Regions from separate parts of the Homo sapiens genome. Here region 1 is linked to region 2. Evidence: promoter capture Hi-C in 16 types of primary human blood cells and fetal thymus (Javierre and others, 2016). All regions are on one chromosome and are shown on one strand. Each heading gives the region's core, a stretch centred on a gene start or on the middle of the fragment in contact. The rest is flanking DNA. Distances are from core to core; before and after follow the strand shown.

What was found. The method cuts DNA at HindIII sites, captures the fragments that hold promoters and counts their contacts. A CHiCAGO score of 5 or more calls a contact.
Region 1: a fragment that was not itself captured here is called in contact with the fragment with the promoter of ORC1 in region 2 in 2 of 17 cell types (endothelial precursors and naive CD4 T cells); the score reaches 6.0 in endothelial precursors.

Annotation. Positions count from the first base shown.
Region 1 is chr1:52,653,340-52,658,246 of GRCh38, forward strand. It overlaps SHISAL2A (shisa like 2A), which reads left to right. Exons shown (of 3, transcript NM_001042693.3): 3 at 3,451-3,726. The coding sequence ends at 3,701. Among named protein-coding and RNA genes, the nearest start is that of SHISAL2A, 23 kb to the left of the region's middle. The HindIII fragment of the contact is 571 bases long and covers 2,436-3,006 here.
Region 2 is chr1:52,402,008-52,406,928 of GRCh38, forward strand. ORC1 (origin recognition complex subunit 1) reads right to left here and starts at 2,416. Exons shown (of 17, transcript NM_004153.4): 1 at 2,239-2,416; 2 at 122-221. The coding sequence starts at 216. PRPF38A (pre-mRNA processing factor 38A) reads left to right here and starts at 2,595. Exons shown (of 10, transcript NM_032864.4): 1 at 2,595-2,872; 2 at 3,673-3,832. The coding sequence starts at 2,743. RefSeq lists an enhancer at 1,915-3,114. The HindIII fragment of the contact is 1,229 bases long and covers 2,249-3,477 here.

The DNA of each region.
Region 1 (4,907 bases), core at 1,471-3,970, 250 kb after region 2:
AGTCCCAGCTACTGGGAGGCTGAGATGGGAGGATTGCTTTAGCCCAGGAGGCGGAGGCTGCCATGAGCCCAGATCACACCACTGCACTCTAGTCTGGGTGACAGAGCAAGACTCTGTCTCAAAAAAAAGAAAACTACAAAATGCTTAGCCGGGCATGATGGCATGTGGCTGAGGTGGGAGGATCCCTTGAGCCCAAGAGTTCAAGGCTCACTTGTAAGCTATGATCATGTCACTATACTCCAACCTGGCAACAGAGGGAGACCCCTGTCTCTAAAAATAACCAACCAAACAAAAAAAAAACTACAAAATGCTGATGAAGGAAATCAAAGAAGACCTAAAATGGAGAAATACACTATGTTCATGAATTGCAAAACTCAACATAGTAAACATAAAAATTGCAACCCGCCCTTTTTTTTTGAGACAGGGCCTTGCTCTGTTACCCAGGCTGGAGTACAATGGCACAATCTAGCCTCAACTTCCTGGGCTCAAGTGACCCTCCCACCTCAGCCTCCCAAGGAGCTCAATGGAAAAGAATTCACAGAAAATTAGGCCAGTCGTATTTTCTGTTCCATTTTATGAAGTAGTAACCGAGATCCAGAGAAGAGAAGGGTTTGGCACAAAGTAGCACAACGTTTAATACCAGAATGAGGACTTGAGCCAAGGTCTTGTAACTTCTGGAAGGCTTGGCTGGCAGCTGCTCAGACCCCCACAATTGGAGAGGGATCACCACACCCTGTTAATTTTTTATTTTTGTAGAGATGGGTTCTTGCTATGTTGCCCAGGCTGGTTTTGAACTCCTGGGCTCAAGCAATTCTCCCTTCTTGGCCTCTCAAAGTGTGGGGATTACAAGTGTGAGCCACTGTGCCTGGCCAAAATGGCAGTTTTATAGATAGATAGATAGATAGATAGATAGATAGATAGACAGATAGATAGATAGATAGATAAGCTAATTCTCAAATTTATATATAGAGAGACAAAGGAACTAGAATAGCTAAAGTAATACTGAAAAAGAATAATGAAGTTGGAGGAAATCACACTACTCAATTTTAAGACTTATTGTATAGCAACAATAATAAACAGTAAGGAGGATAGTGTGGTATTGGAGGAGGGACAGACACATGCATAGATCAAAATATGGTCCAGAAGTAGACTGACATCATAAGGTTGTCCAACAGATTTTTGATGAAGGTGCAAAATCAATTCAACTGGGGAAGATAGTCTTTTCAATAAATGGTGTTAAAACAACTAAACTTCCATAAGTAAAAAATAAACCTTTACCTAGATCTCACACCTTGTACAAAAATTATCTCAAAAAAGATCTAAATGTAAACCAAAAAACTCTAACACTTTTAGAAGAAAACAGGGAAAAATCTTCATGACATGCGGTTATGCAAAGAATTCTTAAACAAGACATCAAAAGCACAATACATTTTAAAAAAGATAAGCCAGTATTCATCAAAGTTCAAAATTTTAATGCTGTGAAAGATCCTGTTAAGAGGATGAAAAGGCAAGCCTCAGACTGGAGAATATATTCACATATTTGACAAAATATATAAGGATTGGTCGGGTGTGGTGGCTCATGCCTGTAATCCCAGCACTTTGGGAGGCCCAGGTGGGTGGATCACTTGAGGTCAGGAGTTCAAGACAAGCCTGGCTGACATGGCGAAACCCCGTCTCTACTAAAAATACAAAAAGAATTAGCCAGGTCTTGTGGCACAAGCCTGTAATCCCAGCTACTCAGGAGGCTGAGGCAGGAGAATCACTTGAACCCAGGAAATGGAGGTTGTGGTGAGCTGAGATCACGCCACTGCACTCCAGCCTGGGTGACAGAGTGATATGTCTCAATAAATGAATAAATAAATAAATAAAACAAAATATATAAAGAACACCCTAAACTCAACATTAAGAAAACAAATGATCCCATTAGAAAATGAGCAGAAGACTTGAACAGACACTTCATTAAAGACAAACAGAGAACAATCTATGTTTTAAAATGTCCAGGCATGGTGGCTCAGGCCTGTAACCCCAGCAACTTGGGAAGCCAAGGCAGGAGGATAACTTGAGCCCAGGACTTCAGGATAGCCTGGGAAATATAATGAGACCCTGTATCTACAAAAAAAAAAAAAAAAAAAAAAAAAAAGGTGGATGTGGTGGTGCACACCTATAGACCTAGCTACTCAGGAGGCTGAGGTGGGAAGATCACCTGAGCCCAGGAGGTCAAGGCTGTAGTGCGCCATGTTCAAGCCACTGCACTCCAGTCTTGGCAACAGTGCAAGACCCTATCTCAAAATAAAATAATGTTTTTGAAAAAGGATATATAGGTGGCAAATAGGCACATGAAAATATGTTCAACTTCATTAGTCATTAAGGAAATGCAGATTAAAGCCACAATGAGATGCCATCTCAAGGAGCACAGGTAATGGAAAGAGATTGAAAGCTTTCAGAAAGAATAGTACATAGACTCACTTGATCTTAGAAAGATCTTAGATCTCTCTGGCTACAGCATGGAGGACGTGATGGAGGGGCCCCCACTGGAGGCCGTTCCAGGGGTCTGGGCAGAAGAAGATGAAAGCCTGATCTAAGGTGGTAGCCTTGAGGATGGAGAGAAATGGGTGGATACCACAGATGACTATTAGGTGGAACCAGCAGGACCTGGCTTTGTGAAAGGGCCGAGGTAGAAGGTGTGAGAGATGACTCGAATTTTTGGCTTAAACACTTGATACATTTTTTTATCTAGAAAGACAGAAATGTTCAATTGTGTCAAATGCTCCTGATTAAAAAAAGAAAAAGGAAAAAAGAATCAGAGTCCTATAACTGGTAAAGTAAAATTTAAAATAAATAAATAATGTTAAATGTTCCTGATAAGGGAGATAAGGATTTAGAAGTGACTATGGGTTTAGTGACAAATAGTTTGAAGGTATAGTGGGGGCAGAACAAAGTAAGTTGCAGCTGAACAAGTCATGAATGGAAGGTAGAGAATAATAAGGCCAAGTGGACTTCCTTTCAAGCTTTGATTTAAGAGGAAGAGAGAAGATAAGTCACTCAGCAAAGAGAAGCATGGAATCTATTCTCAAAGCGAGAACAATCTATGTTTTAAAAATGTCCACCACTCTTCTCCATACTAGCTGTATGGTAATCCTGTGTTCTCATCTATAAAATGGATTTCTAATAGTACCTACCTCATAGGGTTATGGTGAAGGTCAAGTCTTCATAGCTCTTAACAATTGTTTCTTATCTGTTTCCTCCACCAAACTACAAGTTCATGAGCAACACTGACAGCTCTCAGTGCATAATGTGGTGTATTGTTAATAAATACATGTTAAACAAATGATGCTTCTAAGGCTCTGACCACAGTGCACTGCCCAAGGTAAGCACCAGAGAAGTCAGCTGGGGAGTGTGATCCTGTTGGGGAAGAAGAGAGCCACACACCCTCAGTTTGCTGTTTTCCAGGCCCTGAGGAGGTTTCTCCTGACTGCCAAGGTGTGAACACAGGCATGGCGGCAGAAGTGCCAAAAGTGAGCCCTCTCCAGCAGAGTTACTCCTGCTTGAACCCGCAGCTGGAGAGCAATGAGGGGCAGGCTGTGAACTCCAAACGCCTCCTCCATCATTGCTTCATGGCCACAGTGACCACCAGTGACATTCCAGGCAGCCCTGAGGAAGCCTCTGTACCCAACCCTGACCTATGTGGACCAGTCCCATAAACATTCAATAAATGTCTCCATACCATCCCCTTCTGGAGTCTCTTCAGTGAAAGGTGGGAGTGGGAAAGGACTTTAGAGCCTAGCATGATAAATGAGGGCTTCTCCCAGCAAAGATACCCAGCCCTGCTGTGGACCCTGCCATACTGTTCTGCTTGGCCTATTGTGGGCCAAAGAACTTTGACATGACTCCTAGGAAAAATGGTCAGTAACAACTCCATGCAATCGGGTGGAAGCCTGGGGCCTGTGAAGGCACAGAGGAGCCCCTCACCCAACTGGGAAGTCAGAGAACTCTGACATGGTTTTCCTGCCCCACAGTAGGTGTATTTAGGAGCCCCTGAGAAGATGATTAGCCCTCAGAGGGGGATGATCTCTGCCTCTTCAGCAGCTCTGCCTCACCCTGGAGTGCGCCATCCTGGAGTAAGCCCCTTGCAGAGGGACGGATAGAGAGGGAGTATGTTGTGCACAGGGCTCAGGCGTCATTCTATTTCTTAGGTAGATGAAGGAGTGAGTGCTAAGTGAGAGAATGAATAGGGGCAGGGCGCGGCAGTTCACGCCTGTAGTCCTAGAGCTTTGGGAGGACAAGGTGGATGGATCACTTGAGCCCACTTATTCAAGACCAGCTTGGGCAACACAGTGAGACCCAGACTCTACAAAAAATTTAAAAATTAGCCACATGTGGTGGCTTATACCTGTAGTTGCAGCTACTTGGGAGGCTGAAGCAGGAGAATCAGTTGAGCCCTGGAGGTCGAGGCTGCAGTGAGCTATGATCACACCACTGCACTCCAGCCTGGGCAAGACCTCATCACAAAAAAAGAAGAAGAATGAATGAATGAATGAATGGTTATCAGACTGAATACAGGCTCCAGAGGGTGGACTCTGCCACTGTGTGGCCTTGATAAAGTCCCTTGTCTTCCTGAGCCTCAGTCCCCTTGCTGGGTTATTGCAAGTGTTCAATGAGGTGATGGATTTGAACTCACTTCGTAAACATTAAATTACTAGAAGACTTTTTTTTTTTTTGAGACGGAGTTTTGCTCTGTCACTTAGGCTAGAGTGCAATGGCATGATCTCAGCTCAGTGCAACCTCCGCCTTCCGGGTTCAAGTGATCCTCCCACCTCAGCCTCCCAAGTAATTGGGACTACAGGTGTGTGCCACCATGCCTGGCTAATTTTTGTATTTTTAGTGGAGACGGGGTTTCACCATGTTGG
Region 2 (4,921 bases), core at 1,166-3,665:
CAGTTCTAATCTCCTGTTCATTCATGGTCAATCTGTAGTAATTAGAACAGGCTAGATACAAGTTGACTGTTTAGCTTGAGAAGCTGTATTTCCAGGACAACCAAAGGACCCCATCACTCACCTATAGGTTTGGTAGTGCAGTTTTCGATCCAACAAGGGCCTGCCAACCCATGAATAAGTTTTTCTGGTCTTCAGCCTTGTGGGGTAGTGTGCCATGGCTTCTGTGGAAGAGTCCAAACTCTGAGTTACCATGATAAATATTTGGTATTTATCTGATGGATTCTAAGACATAGTCAGTCCCTCCCTTCAAATGAGATCAGACTTATTTTCTGCCCCTGCTACACTCCCATACATTTTAGACTAAGAAAACATTTTATTTGAAGTCATGGTCTACGAAGATTACACACAGGCAATTTAGTATCATCTGTGTCCATCTTGTACTATGCCGTATCTCTTTCCATCCAGGAAAACAGAAAGGTCAATTCCTAAGAAATGAAACTGTAACATTTAGAAATACTAGGAATAAGGCAGAACAATAGGTGTAAAACATCTAACAAAGTGAAATTAAAAGACAGTGATACAGGGGTTGTAAATGTCTTCATGACGCTTATAAAATGCACACAAGGATAAAACAGAAATACAAAGGCTGGGCGCAGTGGCTCACGCCTGTAATCCCAGCATTTTGAGAGGCTGAGGTGGGTGGATCACCTGAGGTCAGGAGTTCGGGACCAGCCTGGCCAACATGGTGAAACCCCGTCTCTACTAAAAATACAAAAATCAGGTGGGCATGGTGGCAGGCAAATCACTTGAACCCGGGAGGTGGAGGCTGCAGTGAGCCGAGATCGCAACACTGCACTCTAGTCTGGGTGACAGAGCAGAACTCTGTCTCAAAATAAAAAAAAGAAAAGTAGATGTTATTATCACTTCAAGGTGATAACTTATCCTATCTTATACAGGATGGCACAGCCTTAACTCAAACCCGGAAAAGCCAGACTGCAATTACTGTGCTCTTAACTACTTCACCTTACAACACACTGTGTGAAACTGGATAATGTTAATATGTAACTGAGAGCTTGCTTTTGGTGTACTTATTACAATAAATCAGGCTTCCCAGCCACTGACTGAACATTGTGGATTGGGCCTCAATTTGCTTACCCACAAAATGGAGAAAATAGAATCTTCCGTTTATTCAACCAATATTTATTAAGTACCCATCGTGTGCCAGGCACTATTTTAGGATAATGGAAGATTAAGTGAAAAAATGCAAAATGGTAAATCCACTTTCCCACTACCTTAATCCCTTGCATTTATTTGTAAGGTACAGTGGTTTTATTTATTAAGTATCATTTGATGAATACTATGGAACTAACATAATTCAAGCAAAATTTTGCATTCAATTTCGGCAGATTCACAAACCTCCTAAAGTCCACATATTGCCCTCCATTAAAGTTAAAAACTGTTGCAAAGGGACTTAAACCATTCTGTCATATTGGAAACTCCTTTGGCATTTCCAGCCCACCTAACACAGCAGAGACGAGGGTACTATTATTCATGTGTTACAGACAACTAGAATCGTATATAATCATTGCAGTTTCACAAATAGATCAGGATAAGAATGCCTTTTCCAACTGTCACAGCAGAAGACTCTTCAATTCCGGGGTTAGAAAAGAGAAGTAGGAAGGGGGCCACCAGACTTCTCTTCTGAAAAGAAGGTGAATGACAGACAGCCCAGCAGTTAGGAGCTCATCTGAAAAAAAGATCTGGGTAGGAGCCCAGACTGCTTAGTCACGAAAAGCGACCTAAGACACGTCCCTCCCTGGGCGCAATTTACGTCCGTAAAATGGGGTAATAACCTCTGCTCCGCCTTCCCTGTAGTGGTTCCTACACTATAGCTCAAAGAACGAAACAAGTAGAGTGCTTTACAAATGCAGATGGAGGGAAAGTCATCACTGAGCATCAGGGTGCGGAGGGCAGGAATGCTCCTGCTTCTAGGCTGTTGGCTTCCGCCTTCCCCCCTGCAAACTCAGTTCCCTGCAGCGCGGGAAGCCTTTTAGGAATCGGAGTGTGGAACAGAGGAACGCTCTTAACAGTTCAGAACAGTGCCTGGCACTGAACAGGCGCTTGGTACATGTCAGCTAAAAGAATCAATGACTGAGTCTACAGAGAACGTCCTCAGTTTCAGAGGTTCCGATGCGCCCTCCCCCGAGTCCCTCGCAGCCCGCTGGACGCCACACTCACCCGGCTCCAAAGCTTCCTCCGGCTAGCCGCAAGCCCTCCGTTTCCTACCGCCTCCACTTCGAGAGCTCCGGGGGATGCGGCACCTCTAACCTGCACCAGCAGGGCTCCTTCTACAACTACGGGCCGAAAGCCAGGACCAAAGCGTGTGTCTCACTAGAAATGAAAAGAAGGTGGAAGGAGAAAAGAAAACTTCGCGCCAATCGGCGTGGCCCCGCCCCCAGACCGTCCCTTCGTTGCGACACCAACTAGCTCGCCCCGCCCACTCCGTACACCTAAGAGGGGCGCATGACGTACATCCGCTAACATGCAGCCGCCATCATTGATTCGATAGGCGACGCGGGGAGCGGAAGCCCTTTACACTACGGTGTTTCCGGCTTCAAGATGGTCGCCTAAGCTGTTTAGTGAAACTTCTTCCACCTTTCTCCATTCCTCTAGGTGCTTTTTCTGAACCTGGATGTGAGGCATTAAAGGATCCGACGGAAATAGAATTGAAGGCATTCTAAAATGGCTAACCGTACAGTGAAGGATGCGCACAGCATCCATGGCACCAACCCTCAATATCTGGTGGAGAAGATCATTCGAACGCGAATCTATGAGTCCAAGTACTGGAAAGAGGAGTGCTTTGGACTTACAGGTAAGTGGAAGCGCGCGGAGCGCCTCTCAGCCCCCTTGTGGCCCATTTCTCCTGACCGAGCGCGGGTAGGACTAGCGACTGGCCTCTGGGGGTGGTACTGGAACGGAGTATGTCGATCATTCAGAAAAATTTTGAGTGCCTGCTAAGTGCCTCGTCTTGTGTTGAGTATTAGAGGCACAGATGAATCTGGTAAGGTCATATTCTGAAGGCTGTCTCAGTTGGGTGTTGTGAGTTATTCCGTATTTAATGATAGCAGGCTGGGTTGCAACAGTGTTAAGCTCAGGGATCCGGATATAACACTTTGACACAATCTGTTGAAGGTCTTTAAGGACCTAACGTTAATATGCCTGAAACCAAATTCATGATCTTACTATTCTTAGATCTGGGCCGGTTCCAGTATTTATAAATATCAGTGCTTCAGAGAAGTCTTCCAGGTAATCTTCCGATTTGAATTGTGGCTTTAAATCCATGTCCTGTGACAATCTGTGGACCTTGAGCAAGTCACTTTACCTTTCTTAGCCCTCATTTTCCTTACCTGGAAATAAGAACATTGCTAGAACTTTCTTCATGACTTGTTAAAAAAGGTTAAGTGAGATAATATGAAAAGCTTAGCAGGGTACCTATTTTATTATCCATTCTCAATGTATATTAGCTGTTGTCGTTACTGTTATTAATACACATTCGTTCTCCTAATATTACACTGTTGATGTATATTTAGGAGAACCAAAGCTTGAACTAACTCCACTCCAACTAGGAAGAGCTTAGCCCTAATATGTTACTGTATTGTTTTTGTTTTTTAGCTGAACTTGTAGTCGATAAAGCCATGGAGTTAAGGTTTGTGGGTGGCGTCTATGGTGGCAACATAAAACCAACACCCTTTCTGTGTTTAACCTTGAAGATGCTTCAAATTCAACCCGAGAAGGATATCATTGTAGAGTTTATCAAAAATGAAGATTTCAAGTGAGTGCAATGTTCACTAGCTAATATAAGAGGTTTAATTTTGGCGGTTTAGAATTGGGCTTTGGTTAAGAGGGGTGTACACAATGTATCTCATTTCTAGAGAGTTCCACTCCAGATTTTTGCTTTTGAGCCCTTGAGTTTGTATTTTTTGTTTGTTTTTTGTTTTGGAAACAGAGTCTCTCTGTGTTGCCCAGGCTGGAGTGCAGTGGTGCGATCTCGGCCCACTGCAACCCCCATTTCCTGGGTTCAAGTGATTCTCCTGTCTCAGCCTCCCGAGTAGCTGGGATTACAGGCATGTGCCATCACGCCTGGCTAATTTTTGTATTTTTAGTAGAGATGGGGTTTCACCATGTTGGCCAGGCTGGTCTCGAACTCCAGACTTCAGGTAATCCCCTCCCCCCCCGGGCCTCCCAGAGTGCTGGGATTACAGGCATGAGCCACCACACCCTGCCAAGTTTGTATTTTATCTGTTCTGATTGTATTAATCTTCTACTTTACTTTCTCAGTTTTGGTAATTTTTCCCTGAAAAAGGATTTCACAGATTCACTAAATACATATTAAGCAAAAGTGAGTGCCTGATATGTTGGTAGGCACTGGACGCTCAGGGGTGAAAATCAAACAACAAAAGGTGGTGGTTAAGAGGTGTAAGATCTGGGTTCACATCCAGATTCTGTTGCCCATTAACTATGACATTGGAGAGGTTACTTAATTTTCTAAACTTTGCTTATCTGTAAAATGGTGACTATAATATAAGAGTGAAAGAACGTAATGCATGCAGATCTCTGAACACAGCACTTGCTGCATGGTAAACACCTAGAAAATGTCAGCTTATTACCGTATTACCGATTCTCGAGGAAATCACAAACAAGTATAGGAGACAGACATAATAGCTTCTTATGTGCCATGCTGTAAGGGCTTTGCATATAATAATTCATTTCACTTTCACAACAACCTTCTAAACTTTTAATCCCTATTCTACAGGAGAGGAAACTGAGGCACAGAGATTAATTAATTTTGCCCAAGTTCAAACAGCTAGTAAGTGGCAAATCTGGCTTCAGAGTTCATATTCTTTGCTACAGTATTCTGCTT